Linked DNA regions of Homo sapiens: all the other regions are linked to region 3. The links are contacts of gene promoters, found by promoter capture Hi-C in blood cells and fetal thymus (Javierre and others, 2016). All regions are on one chromosome and are shown on one strand. Each heading gives the region's core, a stretch centred on a gene start or on the middle of the fragment in contact. The rest is flanking DNA. Distances are from core to core; before and after follow the strand shown.

What was found. The method cuts DNA at HindIII sites, captures the fragments that hold promoters and counts their contacts. A CHiCAGO score of 5 or more calls a contact.
Region 1: the fragment with the promoter of QPCTL here is called in contact with the fragment with the promoter of TRAPPC6A in region 3 in 1 of 17 cell types (monocytes); the score reaches 5.9 in monocytes.
Region 2: the fragment with the promoter of IRF2BP1 here is called in contact with the fragment with the promoter of TRAPPC6A in region 3 in 1 of 17 cell types (naive CD4 T cells); the score reaches 7.0 in naive CD4 T cells.
Region 4: the fragment with the promoter of MYPOP here is called in contact with the fragment with the promoter of TRAPPC6A in region 3 in 1 of 17 cell types (naive CD8 T cells); the score reaches 5.6 in naive CD8 T cells.
Region 5: a contact is called between the fragment with the promoter of FBXO46 here and the fragment with the promoter of TRAPPC6A in region 3, in 1 of 17 cell types (non-activated CD4 T cells). The highest score is 6.1, in non-activated CD4 T cells.

Annotation. Positions count from the first base shown.
Region 1 is chr19:45,691,416-45,694,115 of GRCh38, reverse strand. QPCTL (glutaminyl-peptide cyclotransferase like) reads right to left here and starts at 1,450. Exons shown (of 7, transcript NM_017659.4): 1 at 1,206-1,450; 2 at 560-703. The coding sequence starts at 1,412. SNRPD2 (small nuclear ribonucleoprotein D2 polypeptide) reads left to right here and starts at 2,163. Exons shown (of 3, transcript NM_001384647.1): 1 at 2,163-2,229. The coding sequence starts at 2,228. RefSeq lists enhancers at 743-1,293, 1,819-1,948, 1,959-2,088, 1,907-2,627. The HindIII fragment of the contact is 1,670 bases long and covers 373-2,042 here.
Region 2 is chr19:45,884,734-45,887,433 of GRCh38, reverse strand. IRF2BP1 (interferon regulatory factor 2 binding protein 1) reads left to right here and starts at 1,293. Exons shown (of 1, transcript NM_015649.3): 1 at 1,293-2,700. The coding sequence starts at 1,660. RefSeq lists enhancers at 469-518, 579-818, 969-1,118 and silencers at 1,279-1,758, 1,799-2,038. The HindIII fragment of the contact is 4,343 bases long and covers 1-2,700 here.
Region 3 is chr19:45,176,938-45,179,637 of GRCh38, reverse strand. It overlaps TRAPPC6A (trafficking protein particle complex subunit 6A), which reads left to right and starts at 1,401. Exons shown (of 6, transcript NM_001270891.2): 1 at 1,401-1,503. The coding sequence starts at 1,420. It overlaps BLOC1S3 (biogenesis of lysosomal organelles complex 1 subunit 3), which reads right to left and starts at 854. Exons shown (of 2, transcript NM_212550.5): 1 at 807-854; 2 at 1-350. The coding sequence starts at 341. RefSeq lists enhancers at 1-67, 608-927, 998-1,067, 1,080-2,023 and silencers at 1-257, 1,428-1,647. The HindIII fragment of the contact is 3,392 bases long and covers 1-1,979 here.
Region 4 is chr19:45,901,245-45,903,958 of GRCh38, reverse strand. It overlaps MYPOP (Myb related transcription factor, partner of profilin), which reads left to right and starts at 1,346. Exons shown (of 3, transcript NM_001012643.4): 1 at 1,346-1,389; 2 at 2,134-2,684. The coding sequence starts at 2,186. RefSeq lists silencers at 654-733, 1,294-1,343 and enhancers at 994-1,103, 1,534-1,583. The HindIII fragment of the contact is 7,646 bases long and covers 1-2,714 here.
Region 5 is chr19:45,729,452-45,732,151 of GRCh38, reverse strand. It overlaps FBXO46 (F-box protein 46), which reads left to right and starts at 1,256. Exons shown (of 2, transcript NM_001080469.2): 1 at 1,256-1,303. RefSeq lists enhancers at 929-1,058, 1,149-1,258 and a silencer at 2,107-2,401. The HindIII fragment of the contact is 3,315 bases long and covers 1,155-2,700 here.

The DNA.
Region 1 (2,700 bases), core at 201-2,700, 510 kb before region 3:
GAACCACTGCGCCTGGCCTTTAAATGACTCTTCATGCTTTCTGGAAGACAACAGATACATTACAGCACCAGCTCGGAGCCAACCTGTTTGGGTTCAACTCTAGGTCTATGATTTTCTAAACATTGGGTCTCACTAGGTTGACTAGGCTAGTCTCAAACTTCTCAGGTGATTCTTCCACCTTGGCTTCCCAAAGTGCTGGGATTACAGGCATGAGCCACTGCACCCGGCTAAGGTCTACTACTTATTATCTGTAGGATTTGTGCAATGTGTATAACCTCTCTGAGCCTCAGTTTCCCCATCTGCATAATGAAGATCATATTGGTACCCACCTTATAGGGCTGTCTGTTGCCTATGCCTAGCACACAGTAAGCTTTTGGTGGGGGCATTAAGGGGGGCAGTACAGCCTGGTGGTTTGTTACCAGCATGGAGTCTAGAGTCCGATTAACTCCAGTCAGAGCCCCAGTTCCTCCTCTTAGCTTCTTTGGGATCTTGAACAGGATTCTTATTTCCCATTCCCTGGAGGGCTAGGGGGTCAGGGACTGGAGGTGGGTCCCTTTACCTTTCTGACTTGGAGATTTCCCGGGCTGCCCGGGGTTCGCACAACCAGCAGGGGGCGCAGATAAGTGCTCCAGAGACGCTGTGGATCCAGTTGTCCCACCACCCTCCGCAGCCGGGCTTCGGGGAGGCTTCCGATCAATGGGACCTTGGGAAGGAGGTGGGATAGGGAAGGGAAGAATGAGAGCAACCCCCCCATTTCAACCCTACCCCGGGCGCCGTCACCCGCGAGGAGCCCCGGGTTCTCTTCCTAATCTGCCGCCTCCAGCATCGGAGACTTCTAGGATAAATCCAAGGCTCAGGAAAAGTCCTTCCAAGACCATCCGGTCCAGCCTACCTCAAACTTGATGGGGAAATCGAGGCCCAGTGAGAGAGAGGGGAGATGGAGGAAGGGACTCTTCCAAATAGTTGACTAAAGGCGTAGAACCCTGAACCCCCCCGTCTTACTATTTCAGACCTTTCCTCTTAAAAGGAAGCTACTGTTGCAGAACCAGCCCGAAGCCTTATTCCTTTGGTAAGGGTCATGCGCTCAGATGACGAAGACGGTGGCATCTGCGGTTAGGGCCGTACGCTAAAGCCACGTCAACCCTGGGTAACAGCGGGGAGGGAATGAGGGTCCCCGCGGTGCCCGGGTCCCCGCCCAGCCTCACCCGCAGCTCCCGGCCCAGCGGCAGCTCCTCAGTCCTGCGGTGCCAGCCGCTCCAAATGGTGTAGAACGCCGAGCCCACGGCCAGCGCCAGCAACAGAGGCAAGAGCCGAACCCGCGGTAGCAGGCGGCGCTTCGGCGGCAAGAGTGGCTCCATGAGGCCACGTTCCCCCAGCCGCAGGCGGGGTCGCCCGCGGCCCCCGGAACGCATGGCCGCTTTGCCCTGAAACCTGTACCAGACCACGGATTGAGTTTAGGCCCAGCCAAGTTCCTCCCCATGGAATCGGTGGGCCAATAAGCAACAGCTGCGGCTGCACCAGCCCACCCCACAGCGAGCAGCGAAACCAATAAGAACTACGGTCCTGAGGACACGCCTCCCAGCCTCCCTTAGGTATTGGGGTTGGTTCCCCTGAGAATGGCACGACCCAAATGGGAGCGCAAGAGAAGTAGGCTCCGCCTTAGCGGAGGAGGGAAAGCCAATGAACAGCGTTTGATCATGGAAAATATTCGATCTCCCGGGCGCAGGTCCATGCCCCTTCCGGATGTAGGCAGGGGATTGGTGGCGCAGGGTCGGAAAGATCAGTAGATACGTCAGTAACGCGTCCCAGAGGGAAGAGGGGCGGTGCCTGTCTCCGAAGCGAGGAGCGGATTGGCTTCACGGAGGCCGCGCCCCCGAAGTCACGGCCGGCGGGCATTTGGAAATAGCTTGTCATTTCCCTCCTTCAACCTGTACCATTCTTCAAGAAACGGTTTGAATCAGACTGCCTTTCCTTTTGTCTTCATTGTCATAAACATCTGCCCCCGTGTGGTTCTGACTGGCCGCGAACCCCTACCCGAAGCTTTTATTCCATCATTGTGCACCGTTGGTGGGGAATGCTGTGGCAACAGGCCACGCCTCCACTTACTGGTTGGCTTTGCGCAGGCGCCAACGGAAGTGGGTCGCAGGAAGAGGAAGTCCCGCCTCTCTCTCCTCAGGCAGCAGCAACGCGGAGGAAACGGGAGTGAACGGAGAGCGTAGTGACCATCATGTGAGGCCGGGCTAGGCTTAGGCGGCGGGAATGAGGTTGAGGGTGGATATTTGACCGATTGAGTGTGGGAAGGGTTGAGCAGAGCGGGGGGGGCAGGGGCAGATGTTTTAGGGATGCAGCGTCCTGCTTTTCTCCTGATGAGTTTGAGAACGGGCGTGGGGCCTTTGACGCATCGTGACTTCGGGAGAGGGGACAGCTTTATCAGATAACGCCCTGGGCTGGGCGCGGGGGCTCATTCCTGTGATCCCAGCACTTTAGTAGGCCAAGGCGGAGCATCGCTGGAACACAGGAGTTCGAGACTAGCCTAGGCAACATAGCGAGACCCCCGTCTCTACAAAAAAAAAAAAAAATTTAATTATGAAAAACATGTTTTAAACGATAACGGGAGTGGTCCTAGATAATTAGTCCTATTGAAATGAATGTTAAGGGGCAGCGATTTTACGAATACTGGGGGAGGCCGAGCGCGGTGGC
Region 2 (2,700 bases), core at 44-2,543, 710 kb before region 3:
TTGTGAAACCATTTTAAAATTGTGAGGTCTGGGTAACAGAATCAGAGCTGCTGCGGTTCCAGTGGGACGGGAGGAGAAGGGACAAGCAGCCCCTCACTAGACAAAACCAGGGCCAACTGGTACGTCATTCAAATATTTTTGAGCACCTAACACGGACCCAGGCCTAGAGAAAGGGGCTGTTGTGGGTTGGAACCTGGAGACCCGCCTCCGCCCTTCCCCAAAGACAGCCTCGTCCAGTTCCCAATGCCTGGGAAAGAAGAAGGGTCCTCACAGCCTGATTGGGCCTTCCAGGTAGTGAGCGCTCAAGGTTGGGGAAAGGTTGGTCTGGTGTTTGCCCTTCCCCAGCAACTCCCTCCTCTTGCCCGTCACTTCTTAACCCCTTACTCTTCCCTCAAACTGGGGAGCAACAGAAGATAAGGGTCCCCCAAACGCCACGCTCCGAATGCACGTAAAGAGCCCCCAGAAAAGTGGGGGGGCGGGGGGTAGCCGGGAAAGTAGCGTGAATCTGGAAGGCCTCCCCAAACCTCCCAGAGGGCGGAAGTGCGTCACTATGTCCGACCCGCAGTGCATTTTGGGAATTGTAGTGAAGCGGGTGGGGGACGCCGAGCCCCCGATGGTGTAACCCTTTAGAGACCAGAGCGCGCGGGCAGAGCTGGGACAGGGTTAGAGGGCGGCCAGTCGCCCCACTCTTTTAGCAGAGAAACAACTGAGACAAGGCTCTGGCTCGGAAGCCCTTAGTCCTCTCCCTTCTCTGGCTGTGGCGGGCCCCAGAAGCATATATCTAGGATTCCGGGGGGAGGACGAAGTGCCAGGTGGCCACCCCCACCCCCACCTAGTTGCCAGCTTCCCGTCCCTGCTCTGAAGCCAATCAGGGCTTCTCCGCCCCGCCCCAGAAGCTGCTACTTTCCTAATCCGTCATTGGCCCACCTTTGCTGGGCGGGGAAACTGAGGTTCAGAGAGGGCAAGACATTTTGCCTAAAGCTGCACAGCAAATCCGAGCAGAAGTTGGAAGCCCGGAAGCCTGTCCACCCACCCCCACAATTTCTGAATCCGGAGTAGCTCTGATCATTTGTATTGCATCCTCGCCTACCACCTTTGTGTCCCAGCATCTTGCGGCGCGCTGAACTCCGGCCCCACGGAGAAGGTTGTAAGGTTTGCGCCGGCAGAGGCGACAACCCCCCCAGCCCGCGTCTGCCCGCCGTTCCCTTTAAGAGCCGGCCCCGGCGGGACTACGTTTCCCAGAAGGCTTTGCAGGCGTGTTATGTAACTTTCCCTGCGAAGCGGCCTCTGGGGCAGAAGAAGGAGGTGGAGGCGGCGGCGGCCGTTGCAGCGGCGGCGGCGAGAGCGGCGGGAGCCCGAGGCGGCGGCGCTCGCGGCCCATCGTGGGGCCCGAGCTGTGCGCCTCGGCTCGGAGCCCGGACCGGGCGGGGGCGCCGACGTGCCTCAGCCTGCCTTCGCGAGGGAGGCGGGAGTGAGCAGAAAGGCTTAGGGCCCAGGGGGCGGGGAAGGGGGGCCGGGCCTGGATCCGGCGGGGAGGCCGAGCCGGAGGCCGGACCGTGGCTCGCGCTGTCCCCGGGACGCGGATCGAACGTTGGCGGCGCGGATCGCACGTCGGCGGCCGGTGGAACGCGGGAGCTGGGCGGCGCGCGGACTGGGGCCATGGCGTCTGTGCAGGCGTCCCGCCGCCAGTGGTGCTACCTGTGCGACCTGCCCAAGATGCCGTGGGCCATGGTGTGGGACTTCAGCGAGGCCGTGTGTCGCGGCTGCGTGAACTTCGAGGGCGCGGACCGCATCGAACTGCTCATCGATGCCGCCCGCCAGCTCAAGCGCAGCCACGTGCTCCCCGAGGGCCGCTCGCCCGGGCCCCCGGCCCTTAAGCACCCGGCCACCAAGGACCTGGCGGCGGCAGCCGCACAGGGGCCCCAGCTGCCGCCCCCGCAGGCCCAGCCCCAGCCGTCAGGGACCGGCGGCGGCGTGTCGGGCCAGGACCGCTATGACAGGGCCACATCATCAGGCCGCCTCCCCCTGCCCTCGCCCGCCCTGGAGTACACTCTGGGGTCCCGCCTGGCCAATGGGCTGGGCCGTGAGGAGGCCGTGGCTGAGGGGGCGCGAAGGGCCTTGCTTGGCTCCATGCCTGGCTTGATGCCCCCTGGGCTGCTGGCAGCTGCAGTGTCTGGCCTGGGAAGCCGAGGCCTGACGCTGGCACCCGGCTTGAGTCCTGCCCGTCCCCTCTTCGGCTCCGATTTCGAGAAAGAGAAGCAGCAGAGGAATGCGGACTGTCTGGCAGAACTGAACGAGGCCATGCGAGGCCGGGCAGAGGAATGGCACGGGCGCCCCAAAGCAGTGCGGGAACAGCTACTGGCGCTGTCCGCCTGCGCCCCGTTCAATGTGCGCTTCAAGAAGGATCACGGGCTGGTGGGGCGAGTGTTCGCCTTCGATGCTACTGCCCGTCCTCCAGGATACGAGTTCGAGCTGAAGCTCTTCACCGAATACCCCTGTGGTTCCGGCAATGTGTACGCCGGCGTCCTGGCAGTGGCTCGCCAGATGTTCCACGATGCTCTGCGGGAGCCGGGCAAGGCACTGGCTTCTTCGGGCTTCAAGTACCTCGAATATGAACGCCGGCATGGATCAGGAGAATGGCGGCAGCTGGGCGAGCTGCTTACCGACGGCGTCCGCAGCTTCCGCGAGCCAGCTCCCGCG
Region 3 (2,700 bases), core at 152-2,651:
GCCAGCCGAAGTTGCAGGAGCGAGCGCGCGGGGGCGGGCGCCGGGGCCTCCTCCGTGCCCCAGGCCTCCTCCGCCGATTCCCGCTGCACCACGAGTGGAGGCAGGTCCCTCGGCGCGGCCGTCGGTTCCGGCTCCGGCTCCGGCTCCGAGTCGGTCTCCGCGGCTTCCCCAGCCACCCGCAGCCCCGTGGGGCGGCCGCGCGTCGGGCCCGAAGGACCCAGGTACAGCTCCTCCTCCTCCGACGAGGACGCAGAGCGCTCGGAATCCGTCTCGGTCGCCTCCCCCGGCACCACCGTCTCCGGCCTCCGCAGGGGCCTCCGCCGACGACCCTGGGACGCCATGGCACCGAACTAGGGGAGAAGAGCGAAGGGACTGCACGTGAGACCGGCGCCGCGGTGGGTAAAAGGCGCAGGTCCTGGATTCCCAGCCCCTTCGCTGATTCTCTTAACGACTTGGTGTCAGCTGCTCCCCGTCTGGGCCTCAGTTTCCTCTTCTGTAAACTGGGTGATGATGGGGGTTACTGGACCCCAGGCTCTTCAGCGTACAGATGGGGAAACTGAAGACCAGCTCGAACAAGGATCTGGGGCCCGAGTTCCCGGAGTCCCAAGCCGAGGTCTTTACGAATTTGCCTCCTAGTAGAGGCCACACCCTCCACCTGGTCCACCATGCCAATCTCAGACCCGGAAGCACACGGGCCCGTGAGCTGCTCGGGACCAGCGCCAGAGTCGCAGAAAGGATGACAGTCCGACTGGACTCTGCTGGGGGCACTCATGGGATGGGAGAAGCGCTAACGCCAAAGACCGTACCCGGCAGCTGACGCTCGGAGCTTGCGAGATCCGCTTCCTAACCCGAGTGCTGCGTTCTCACCGTGGCAGCTGAAGGGCTGTGATTTCAACCAATAGGGGAGCGGGTTGGGCGGGCATTAGCGGCCAAGTCACGTGGATTCGCCCGGCTACCAATCAGGAAGCAAGTTCTCAGCATCAGCTTTGAGTGAGCGTGCAGAAGAGTCACATGAATGGAGGAACCGCCAATAGAGAAACAGCTGGGCCGGCTCTTCCAGGTTGTGCGACGAGGAAAGTCTGGAGTGGACCAATAGGGATTTTAAAAGCCGAGTATGTCACGTGTAACCAGTAATTTGGCCAATAGGAATGCTCGAGAACCCGGAAATAGGGAAGGGACGGCAGTAAGAGCAGAAGATGTTGCCACATGTGGCCAGAGAAGGCGTAGGCCCGCCCCCTAGTGTCCCAGGCTCACGCGCACACCACCTGAGTCCGGGGCGGGGAGGCGGGGCTAGTCTAAAACACCAATGGAAGCCGGAGTAGGAGGGCTCGCGCCATGACGCAAGAGGCGTGGCTTACCAAGCCTGGCCAATGAGAGCTGGAAGCGCTGGGCGCATCTTTAGGCGTGCGAGGAGGGGGCATGGCGGATACTGTGTTGTTTGAGTTTCTTCACACGGAGATGGTGGCTGAGCTGTGGGCTCACGACCCCGACCCCGGCCCGGGGGTGAGCGCCGGGCTCCGTGGGGAGGAAGCGGGGGCCACCAAGGTAACGCCTCTGGGAGAGCGGAGGGCGCGTCAGGCGTCCGGGTTCGAACCCGGCCCAGCCCCGGCCTTGCAGGGCAACGTCTGGCCCTGGCTTCCTCCTTTGGAAAGTGGCGTTCGCGACGGTGCCGGCTCGGGGTTATTGCTAAATTGAGCGCGATGATTCAGGGTAAAGCACTTAGCTCAAGGCCTGAGTAAGCGGCTAGTAATCATAATAATGCTGTTATTGGGCGTGTGCTGAGGACTCGCCTCCCCCACTTACTAGGTGTGCGACCCAATGACTTAATCTTTGTGTGTCCTAGTTTTCTCTTTTGTAAAATGAGTATCATAACGTACCTAAGCCTCAGCGTGGGACATTTATTTATTCGACACCCACTTATTGAGCGTCTGTTGTATTCCAGGCACCGTTCTAAGACAGAATCCCTTCCTTGTGAAGCTTACATTTCACTAGGGGAGTCAAATAATAAAATGAAATATGCCGGCTGGGCGCTGTAGCTCCCAGCACTTTGGGAGGCCGAGGCCGTCGGATCACCTGAGGTCAGGAGTTCAAGACCAGCCTGGCCATGGTGAAACCCCGTGTCTACAAAAATTAGCCGAGCATGATGGCGGGTACCTGTAATCCCAGCTACTCGGGAGGCTGAGACAGGAGAATGGCTTGAACCTGGGAGGCGGAGGTTGCAGTGAGCCAAGATTGTGCCATTGCACTCCAGCCTAGGCGACAGAGCGAGACTTGTCTCAGGAAAAAAAAAAAAGAGATAATGGGGTTTTGCCATGTTGCCTAGGCTGGTCTTGAACCCCTAGGCTCAAGTGATTCTCCCGCCTGGGCCTCCCAAAGTGCTAGGATTACAGGCGTGAACTACCGTGACTGGCCCGGGACTGTGTGTGTGTGTGTGTGTGTGTGTGTGCGCGCACGCGCATCCTGCTCGGTCGCCCAGGCTGGCTGGAGTGCAGTGATGCAGTCATGGCTCACTGCTGCCTCGACCTCCTGGGCTCAAGCGATCATCCCACTTCTCAGCCTCCCAAGTAGCTGGGACCACAAGCGCTGCTGGCGCCACCACACCTGGCTAATTTTTTGTATTATTATTATTTTTTTTAGTAGAGACGGGTTTTCACTGTTAGCCAGGATGGTCTCCATCTTCTGACCTCGTGATCTGCCCAT
Region 4 (2,714 bases), core at 97-2,596, 720 kb before region 3:
GCTCACTGCAGCCTGCAACTCCTGGGCTCAAGCGATCCTCCCGCCTCAGCCTCCCAAGTAGCTGGGACTACAGGCATGTATTTTTTTTTTTTTTTTTTTTGAGACGGAGTCTCACTCTGTCGTCCAGGTGGAGTGCAGTGGTGCAATCTCAGCTCACTGCAACCTCTGCCTCCCGGGGTTAAGCGATTCTCGTGCCTCAGCCTCCCGAGTAGCTGGGATTACAGGCATGCACCACCATGCCCAGCTAGTTTTTGTATTTTCAGTAGAGATGGGGTTTCACTGTGTTGGCCAGGCTTGTCTCGAACCCCTGACCTCAGGTAATCCGCCCGCCTTGGCTTCCCAAAGTGCTGGGATTACAGGCGTGAGCTCCACCGCGCCCGGCCCAGGCTACGGATTTTAGCTTTTATGTTCATTGTACCAGGAACTGTGTAAGTGCTCATGTATATTTATTGAGTCGATGAATGAAGCACCAATTGTCGAATGACCTTGAGGACTCCTGCAGGATGCTAACGAACACACTTCTCAGCCGGACTGAGCTCCATCATCCTGCCATGCGGCTCACCCCACCTGCGTTCTGGCTTCATTCCTGTCTCCATGCACTTGCTTAAAGTCGTGCCGGCGTCAGGATCTCCCTTCCTACCAGCCAGGAAGCTCTTCCCTCTTATTTTCCCCGCTCCTCGAGGTAAAGGTGCGCACAGAGGGGCCCCCAAGGCGTGACTGGAAGGCTTGTGGGTCGCTATGGTTACTGCATCCGCCCGGGGCGGGACATCCCCAGGACGCCCAGCCTCTAGGGGTGCGAGGTGGGAAGCTCTGGAGCGGCCCAGCGCAGGGGCGGGCAAGCCAGGAGGCAAAGCGGTTTCCTCACGCCTCCACCCCACCCACACAGTTGTCAAGGAGACAAAGCGCTTCCCTTCAGCGCTGTCTCCCTCCCCTTTGGTTAGAGGGCAGGGTGGGCTGGAAGACTGTCCGAAAGGTTGGGTACTGGCGCGCTCCCAGCATCTCTCCCATCCAAGCTCGCAACGCCTGCGCCGAGACCCGGTACCGGGTACAACCCGAGGCACGCGCATGCGCGCGATGGAGTTTTTGCGCGTGCGCCGTTGTGGCCCCAGGAAGCTGGGGTACCCGCGCGGCGCTAACGTTGCGGCTGCGCAGTTGCGGCCTGCTGGTGGGGCTCGGCGGAGCGCAGTTCTGCGCCTGCGCTGTGCTGGGGTAGGTGGGAATGAAACCCTGGCGGTAAGGGCATTGGGGCCGACTGGCCCTGGGCGCGCCTGCGCCTTGGCATGCGGGGCGGCCGGAGGCGGGGCCGAAAGAGGGGAGGGAGGGAGGCGGGGGGTGGGAACAGGCCGCAGAAGCCCGAGCCCTGACCCACCGGCGGCTGCGGCGGAGCCGGTGAGTGACCCGTGGCCCGACTCGGTCCCCACCCTCCGCGACCTTCGCTCTCCCTGCCGTCCCCCGTAGCCTCCGTTGTCTCCTTGTGATACGGGACCCCCGTTATTTCCAGAGCTCCCCTTAATTTCTGGCAATCCCCAGAGCCCCCACAATCCTCGCAGACCCTGATCCCTAATATTTGATCGTTCCAGCTCTTCCAGTGATACAGGAGCTCCCACCTCACCATTATTCCTGGACATCCCTCTAAGGGCCCTTCTCATATCGGTCTTACAGACGCCCCGTTGCCCCCTAGAGCCCCTAGAGCGCCTCCTCTGCTCCAGATTCCCCCCTTCTTGCTGCATCCCCCCTTCCGCATCTCCTTATCTTCATGCATCTAAGACCCCCCCGAGGCACCCCCATCCTCCCTCCATTTCCTATCCTCCCGTGCCCCCATTCTCTAACTCCTGCAGACACCTCCTCTCCTCGCACTTTTCCTCCTTTCCTTCCATCCCTCCAGACCCTCCCCCAATTTCTATCAACTCTTCAGCGTGGCACTTCGCGCCGCGCGAAGTCCGAGCCAAGCGCTCAGCCGGTGTCAGCTACTCTTAGGCGCTTCCGACTTACCCGGGTGCCCGTCGCCCCCGCCCGCCCCCCGCCCCCACTCCTGCCCCCGGGGACTAAGGAGCTCTCGGCCCGGCGGTCTGGGAGAGGCGGCGGCGGGGGGACCCCGAACCCCAGCCAGCCCCGTGCGCCCTTTGCCCGCAGCGCCGGCGCCCCCCATGCGCCAGACGGCAGGACGGCGGCGTCGGGGGGCGCCATGGCCTCGGCGGCGGCGGGCGAAGCGGAGGAAACCACCCGGTTGCGCAAGCCGCGCTTCTCATTCGAAGAGAACCAGATCCTGATCCGCGAGGTGCGCGCCCACTACCCGCAGCTCTACGGCGCGCAGAGCCGTCGGGTGAGCGTGGCAGAGCGGCGGCGCGTGTGGGACGGCATCGCCGCCAAGATCAACGGTATCACCAGCTGGAAGCGCACGGGCCAGGAGGTGCAGAAGCGCTGGAACGACTTCAAGCGCCGCACCAAGGAGAAGCTCGCTCGCGTGCCGCACTCCACGCAGGGCGCCGGGCCCGCCGCGGAGGACGCTTTCTCCGCGGAAGAGGAGACCATTTTTGCCATCCTGGGGCCAGGTGTGGCGGCGCCGGGGGCAGGTGCTGGGGCGGAGGAGCCCCCTGCGGCCCCCTCTTCACAGCCGCCGCCCCCAAGCGCCTGCCCTCAGCGCTACGTGTTGTCGGAAGACCGCCGGGAGGACCGACGTGCAGGTGAGTGTCTTCAGAGTAGGCTGTGTGCCT
Region 5 (2,700 bases), core at 7-2,506, 550 kb before region 3:
AGCTTCTTCTTCTTCTTCTTCTTTTTTTTTTTTTTGAGACGGAATCTCGCTCTGTCCCCCAGGCTGGAGTGCAGTGGCGCGATCTCGGCTCACTGCAAGCTCCGCCTCCTGGGTTCACGCCATTCTCTTGCCTTAGCCTCCCGAGTAGCTGGGACTACAGGCACCCGCCACCCAGCCCGGCTAATTTTTTGTATTTTTAGTAGAGATGGGGTTTCAGTGTGTTAGCCAGGATGGTCTTGATCTCCTGACCTTGTGATCAGCCCGCCTCGGCCTCCCAAAGTGCTGTGACTACAGGCGTGAGCCACCGCGCCCGGCCTTCTTTTATTTTAAGAGGCAGCAGGGTCTCATTCTGTCGCCCAGGCTGAACTGCATGGAGGGCGGTGGTGTAACACTAGCTCACTGCCTCGAACTCCTGGGCTCGAGCGATGTGGAGCTGCTATTCTATGATGTGGACTAACTCCTAATGTATGGGACTTTCCTTCCTCCTAAGGCTTAATTTTCTCATTTGTAAATCAGGAGGTAAGAAAGGAGGGGACGGGCCGGGCGCGGTGGCTCACGCCTGTAATCCCAGCACTTTGGGAGGCCGAGGCGGGTGGATCATGAGGTCAGGAGTTCAAGACCAGCCTGACCAACATGGTGAAACTCCGTTTTTACTAAAAATACAAAAACTAGCCGGGCGTGGTGGCGGGCTCCTGTAATCCCAGCTACTCAGGAGGCTCAGGCAGGAGAATCGCTTGAACCCAGGAGGCGGAGGTTGCAGTGAGCCGAAATTGCGCCACTGCACTCCAGCCTGGGTGACAGAGCAAGACTCCGTCTCAAAAAAAAAAAAAAAAAGAAGGGGATGGATGGGAAGGAGTTTGGAAAAGCACAAGGAGCTGTTAGCTATTGTGTTGATCGGCACAAATGAATCAATAAATTTGCTCTTCCCCAACTCTCCACCCCTCACCAACACCCTATTGCAATATTCTCAATTCCCTTCCCAAGGGCCTCGGGCAAAAATGGAGCCCTCCTGGCTAGACTCCATCTCCCAGCGCGCCCAGCGGGGAAGCACCCTGCGCTTGCGCTGCCAAGTCCTCCCCGGCTTTGTCTCCCGGGAGTTCGAGTCGTTCTTTTCCTCCGCCCGCCTAATTTGCTTCCTACCCCACCTCCAAGCTTGACCGTGCTGCCTTCTGGGGGATGTAGTCCGTGGCTGCCCGGACTTCAATTCCCAGCGGGCTTCGGGACGAGAACCCGGAAGGGGAGGCTGGAGAGGAGCGAGTGGGGGAAACCCGCGTAGCCGAGGGAGATGCAGCGCGCGGCGATGGTGAGAGCCCAGGCGCGGGCCGGGGGCGCTGGAGAGTCGGGACGGGGGTTCGGGACCGGGTGACGAGGGGGAAGAGGCAGGGGCGAAAGAAGGGGCTGGGTGAGGGGAGATTGCCTGGGGGAGAGGACTGGGAGGAATGGGAGCCGGAGGTAGTAGTAGAAGAATGGTGGCTTGGGGAGGGGTCTTGGAGGTGGGGTGGGAGTGGAGCTTTGGAATTGATTGTAAAGGGGCTCAGAGCTGGGGAAGTGGGCCCCGAGTTGGAGACTGGGCTGGACATCCAGGTAGAGGCCCTGAAGGGGTCGATTTCGATGGGGGCTTAACCTGCGGCGAGGGTATGAGGATCAGGGTTAGGATGAGTGAGGGGGTCTGGAAGCTCCAAGGGACAGGCGAACGGTGGACGCAATGGGTTGGGGCCTCTGGATCGGATTGGGGGCAGGAAGGCAAGTTGAGGAGGTAGGAGGGAGAAATCAGTGGTAGGATAGAGTGTGGGTTTAGGCTCCAGGACTGAGGGTGGGGTAAGGAGCGTGAAATTAGGGGCCTGGATGTAGTGATAATTTCCCTAGTCCCGCCAGAGACTCCCGGTAAGCTGGACAGGCACAGAACTGTAGGATAATACGGCCAGAAAGGGCCATCGAGACAGGCTTTCGCACCCTCACTTCCCCGGTGGAATTTAGAAGAGTGTAATGGTTTATCCCTATGAGAAGTACAGCATTCATATCCCCTATTCTTCCACCCCTTTGTGCCATGGACAAATCTGTGAGCCTCAGTGCCCTTATCTGTAGTATGGGAACAGCAAGCATGCCTCTGAGAACAGGGTTAAAGGGAGTCATTAAAATCGTTACTATTAGTGGGAGAGCTGGGCTGTGAAGTTTCAGTCTCAGAGCTGTTGGTGGGAAGTTCTCCGCCCCCGGAATGTGACTGGGTTACAGGTGCTAATGGATTTCCTCCTTTCCAGTCCAGTCCCAGAGGCGTTTTCTCAAAAGCTGGCACTGATCTGGGCACACACCCCAGCTCAGAAGCATGTAGGGGCTCCCCACTGTGGATTACAGCTAACGCTTATTGTTTTACAAAATGCCTGGCCCTGTCCTTAGCTGTTTGTACACATTAACTCATTTAATTCTGATAACACCCCTGAGGGGTAGGTGCTGTTATTTTCTCCATTTTACAGAAAGGAAGCAGAAGTACAGAGAAATTAAGCAACTTTCCCAAGGCTATCCAGCATTAATTGCTAGACTCAGGATTCCGATCTTGGCAGCCTGGCTCAGAATCTGTGCTTTCAGCACTATAATTTAGTCCTCTCTCCATACTGAAATATACAATGTGATGAGTAGAGACAGCGAACAAAGCAGTCTAGAATATTAGTTCTGCCATTTACTTGCTATATGACCTTAGGCAAG